Regions from separate parts of the Homo sapiens genome. Here region 2 is linked to region 1. Evidence: promoter capture Hi-C in human tissues and cell types (Jung and others, 2019). All regions are on one chromosome and are shown on one strand. The core of a region is centred on a gene start or on the middle of the fragment in contact, and the rest is flanking DNA. Distances in the headings are between cores, read along the strand shown. Region 1 holds the start of KCNH1 (potassium voltage-gated channel subfamily H member 1). Region 2 overlaps KCNH1 (potassium voltage-gated channel subfamily H member 1).

The links. The method cuts DNA at HindIII sites, captures the fragments that hold promoters and counts their contacts. A contact is called where the count stands out against the background at its distance.
Region 2: a contact is called between a fragment that was not itself captured here and the fragment with the promoter of KCNH1 in region 1, in 1 of the 25 tissues and cell types used here (hippocampus).

What each region holds. Positions count from the first base shown.
Region 1 is chr1:211,132,895-211,135,594 of GRCh38, forward strand. It overlaps KCNH1 (potassium voltage-gated channel subfamily H member 1), which reads right to left and starts at 1,254. Exons shown (of 11, transcript NM_172362.3): 1 at 973-1,254. The coding sequence starts at 1,051. It overlaps KCNH1-IT1 (KCNH1 intronic transcript 1), which reads right to left and starts at 480. Exons shown (of 2, transcript NR_046784.1): 1 at 294-480; 2 at 1-132. RefSeq lists silencers at 471-661, 1,156-1,435. The HindIII fragment of the contact is 15,184 bases long and covers 1-2,700 here.
Region 2 is chr1:210,966,562-210,969,261 of GRCh38, forward strand. The region is part of intron 6 of KCNH1 (potassium voltage-gated channel subfamily H member 1); the gene reads right to left. Among named protein-coding and RNA genes, the nearest start is that of KCNH1-IT1, 170 kb to the right of the region's middle. The HindIII fragment of the contact is 3,496 bases long and covers 1-2,700 here.

The sequences.
Region 1 (2,700 bases), core at 4-2,503:
AGGACTCCTAGTCGCTCTGCAAGTGCTTAGTTGGGGTCTCTCCTCTGTTAAGTCCGAAAGGCGTTTGGAATTCTTCCTTTCCATCCCCGCTCCTAGGACTCTCGCCTCTCAAGGCTTCATGCTACCGTCGATCTTAATGCCACAAGGAAACAGATGAGTGCTGATTGTCAGTTTATTGGGTAATGGATCTATTTATAGGTTTGGTGAGATTGGGAATTTATAGGTGAGCAACACTTAAGGGTGGCATAAAACCGTTGTGGGTTTGGAAGAGGGGAAATATAACAGGTTTGTACCTGTGACCATTTAGTTCGCTCTGCACCTGTGCCCTCCACTTCCCACCTGACGCCAGGAAAACCATCTGCCCCTCACTTCGAAGGTGAGCCTTAACTTCACCTAGAAAGTGGTGGGTGGGTGAAGGGGTGGAATCAGGCCGCCGAGAGCACGTCCCGACACCTCGGACTTTTCAGTTGCAGGGATGGAAGGTGGAGGCAGCCGGATCCTCCCATTCTGAGGCAGCGGGGACCTGGAGTTGCCCGTCTCTACTGCTGGCTCTCCCTGGGGAGAGGCGGCGCCTCTGGGAGCAGCCCGGGAGCCCCAGAGCCTTCGCGGAAGGGTGGGCAGTGCCGATGGGGCGCGCGCTGCCGCTCCGGCTGCAGCCAGCTTTCCATCACTTTTCCCAGTACTTTGCTCAGCAGCTGTCACGCATCCTTGGAGATAAGACCGAGAGGGCGCTAGAAAGGCCCAAAAGGCGTCCCCAGAAGAGCTCTCCTGTTAGGATGGGGACCCATCAGACCCCGCCCCGCCCTGCCCACCTTTCTCTGCCTCGGGGAGGCTGCCCTGGGTGCCCGCGCCGCGGCTCCTTAGCAGAGCTCGCGGGTTCTGCTGCATCTGCTGGCTCCGAGCGGCGAGAGGTTCTGCAATAAAGGCACGGATAAAACGCCCGGGTAATCGAAATCCGAATGCACCTCTTACCATTGGACCGCCGAACAATATTCTCCAGAAACGTGTTTTGAGGGGCCACTAGTCCCCTCCTGCCCCCAGCCATGGTCATCCTCCCAGCAGCTCGGGGTCCGGCGGGCGTCCTGGCGCGGCTTCTTACGACAGCAGGAAACTGGCCTCGGGGCCCGCACGCAGTCCCGGCTCGAAGCGCCCCATGCGCCCGGCGGGGATCCGCAGGCAGGGCTGGCGGCTCCCTCTGGCTGCTACCCTCGCGCCCTCTTCGCGCCTCCCTCCCTGCGGCCCGCCTCGCAGTGCACTCGCGCCGGCCTCGGCTAGCGGCAGCCGCCTCCGGGTGGGCGGAGGGAGCAGCGGCGCCTGGGCCGGCGGCGCCCCCTACCGGGCTCGTGCCCCACCGCCGGCCTGCGGGAGACCAAGCTGGGGGGCTCCCGCAGAGGCAGGGAAGTGGCGGGCGGCCGTGGACCAAGGCTGGGACGGCAGCGCCACCCTCTGGGTTCAGCCGGGAAATGTGTTCAGGATGTGCCATGGGCTGGGTGGAGAGGAGGGCATTGTGAGCAGCTTTCAGGGCGGATTCACCCCCAACAAGTCTTAGGGGAGCGTGCTGATGTAACTCTCTTCCTTTGCTCTGTTTCAGGCCGGGGCCCCCGGGACCTGTGAGGCTCTGGGAACACCTTCTTGCCTTCCTGTAAGGTTAGCCTGACTAGTGAAAGTTGCCCCACCTTGATTCTAGGCCAGTGTTTGAGCAGTAATTAATGAAGTCGTATTGCAATAGTGCAGATTTAGAGTGACTGGCAGATTCAGCTTCAGAAGAGTTGTCTTGGGTTGTTTTTACCGTAGACACAAATGCAGGCTCCTGATGTTTGGTATGATCAGTATCAAACTGCCTGACAAACATCAAAGGGGTGGACTTGTCTCTAAGGGCGAATGCTCAGGAGAGGGGCAGCATTAATTAAGCAACCGTGGCTTTGGCTTGAAGGGTAGTCTGTAGTGCAGAGGATACAGTTAGTTTTTACAGCTGACCCCTGGTATACGGAAGAACCACATACACCCAAGGTTTCTGGACAGGGGCTAAGACAACGGTCGTTTGTTCACTTATTTTGGGGGATTTCGACCCACACATAGTCTGTACCTGCCTTTTTACTATGTATCCCCAGTCGGTGCGGTGGGAGACTAAGCCTATGTCCCACAGGAGAAATGAATGGAGAGTTTACTAGTTTCAGACTGAGTCAACAGTCAACACAAAAATGTAAGAGAAAAAAAAACTAACCCTGAAAATTAATTGTCTGGGTTAGCCATCCTGACATATCCTAATGTATTGCAAAGACATCCTGTCTCAGTTAATTAATTTCAAAAACAGAAGAACTAATTCTTGCCCAGAAATCTCTCAGAGTTGCTGTGAAGATCAAGCAAGAATTATGTATGGGGACAGCACCTTAAATTGTAAAGTGCTGTGCCAAGGTCAGACGTCATTATTGGAGTGACTAAATAAATTGGGCCATTACGAATATCACCCTTTATCTCGTCTTGTGTAGAGACAAAGTAAACAGATTGCTGTTAGCAGAGAGTTGGATAAGACTGTCATAGGATTTGAAATGCAAGTAATGATACACTTTTTCCTTAAGATAGCCTTCTACCCATCGCCTGTTACCTAGTCTAGAACAGTGATTTCTTAAACCCTAGCTCCGTCTAGTGGTTCTTTGTTCTATTACAAATGAGATAACACTGGTTGAAGAGAACTTGATT
Region 2 (2,700 bases), core at 107-2,606, 170 kb before region 1:
ATGAACAGACACTTCTCAAAAGAAGACATTTATGCAGCCAACAGACACATGAAAAAATGCTCATCATCACTGGTCATCAGACAAATGCAAATCAAAACCACGAGATACCATCTCACGCCACTTAGAATGGCAATCATTAAAAAGACAGGAAACAACAGATGCTGGAGAGGAGGCAGAGAAATAGGAACGCTTTTACACTGTTGGTGGGAGTGTAAATTAGTTCAACCATTGTGGAAGACAGTGTGGCAATTTCTCAGGGATCTCAAACTAGAAATACCATTTGACCCAGCAATTCCATTAATGGGTACATACCCAAAGGATTATAAATCATTCTACTATAAAGACACATGCACATGTATGTTTATTGTGGCACTGTTCACAATAGCAAAGACTTGGAACCAACGAAATGCCCATCAATGATAGACTGGATAAAGAAAATATGGCTTATATACACCATGGAATATTATGCAGCCATAAAAAACGATTGAGTTCATGTCAAACTAACACAAGAACAGGAAACCACACACCACATGTTCTCACTCATAAGTGGGAGTTGAACAATGAGAACACATGGACACAGGGAGGGGAACATCACACACTAGGGACTGTCAGGGGTTGGGGGGCTAGGGGAGGGATAGCATTAGGAGGAATACATAATGTAGATCATGGGCTGATGGGTGCAGCAAGCCACCATGGCATGTGTATACCTATGCAACAAAGCTGCATGTTCTGCACATGTACCCCAGAACTTAAAGTAAAATAAAGTAAAATACAATCAAATTGTAAAAAAATAGTAAAAAGATACCCTCTGCTATGCAAAGGATATAAGGGGTTTTCCTAAAAGTTTGAAAGTTTTGCCTTTCACACTTAAGACAAATGACTTAAGCTTTTATTTTATCTGAAGCTTCTTGTTTACATGTGATATGAGGGAGAAAAAAAATCACTTTATCTCTACAAATAATCAAATATCCCAGAACCAGTTATTGAGTGGTCCTTCCTTACCCTAGTGACCTGTGATGCTACCTTTATTCTTCATATTTCCTGATATACGGATCTGTTTCTCTTCAGTTCCATCTGTCAATTTGTCTATCCTGAATCAATACCATATTGTCCCAATTATTAGGTTATAAGAAGTCTTAATTTCTGTCAGAGAATATCCTTTCACTTAATTTTTCTTCATTCGTTTCTTCCTTCGCAATCCTTACAACTATTTCTTTTTTCTCTCTTACTGTATTGGTTAGGAATTTGAACAAAATATTGACTTGAAGCTATGACAGTGAACATTGTCTTGTTCTCAATTTTTTTTTCTTTTTTTTTTATTATACTTTAAGTTTTAGGGTACATGTGCACATTGTGCAGGTTAGTTACATATGTATACATGTGCCATGCTGGTGCACTGCACCCACTAACTCGTCATCTAGCATTAGATATATCTCCCGATGCTATCCCCGCCCCCTCCCACCACCCCACAACAGTCCCCAGAGTGTGATATTCCCCTTCCTGTGACCATGTGATCTCACTGTTCAGTTCCCACCTATGAGTGAGAATATGCGGTGTTTGGTTTTTTGTTCTTGCGATAGTTTACTGAGAATGATGATTTCCAATTTCATCCATGTCCCTACAAAGGACATGAACTCATCATTTTTTATGGCTGCATAGTATTCCATGGTGTATATGTGCCACATTTTCTTAATCCAGTCTATCATTGTTGGACATCTGGGTTGGTTCCAAGTCTTTGCTATTGTGAATAATGCCGCAATAAACATACGTGTGCATGTGTCTTTATAGCAGCATGATTTATAATCCTTTGGGTATATACCCAGTAATGGGATGGCTGGGTCAAATGGTATTTCTAGTTCTAGATCCCTGAGGAATCGCCACACTGACTTCCACAATGGTTGAACTAGTTTACAGTCCCACCAACAGTGTAAAAGTGTTCCTATTTCTCCACATCCTCTCCAGCACCTGTTGTTTCCTGACTTTTTAATGATTGCCATTCTAACTGATGTGAGATGGTATCTCATTGTGGTTTTGATTTGCATTTCTCTGATGGCCAGTGATGATGAGCATTTTTTCATGTGTTTTTTGGCTGCATAAATGTCTTGTTTAGAGAAGTGTCTGTTCATGTCCTTCGCCCACTTTTTGATGGGGTTGTTTGTTTTTTTCTTGTAAATTTGTTTGTGTTCATTGTAGATTCTGGATATTAGCCCTTTGTCAGACGAGTAGGTTGCAAAAATTTTCTCCCATTTTGTAGGTTGCCTGTTCACTCTGATGGTAGTTTCTTGTCTTGTTCTCAATTTTAAATAAAATGTTCTTAAAATATCCCCCCATTACAATGATGTTTTCAGAAGATTTTTAGTAGATATTCCTTATCAAATTAAGGACATCCCTTTTTATTCCTAATTTGCTAAGAGCTTTTATCAGGAAATGTTTTTGACTTTTTGCCTTCTCTGCATCTTTAATTATACGGATTATTTCCTTTCATCTGTTAATGTAATAAATCAGATTTATAAATTTTCTAATATTAAACCACCTGTATATTCTTGGAATAAATTCAACTTTATTATGACACATTACCTTTTCTGTACATTATGAATTCTTATTTACTCTTTTTTGGTTATAAATTTTTCATCCATCCTCATGAGTGAGGTTAACCTATAATTTTACTTTTCTACACCATGCTTATGTGTTTTGGTTTTG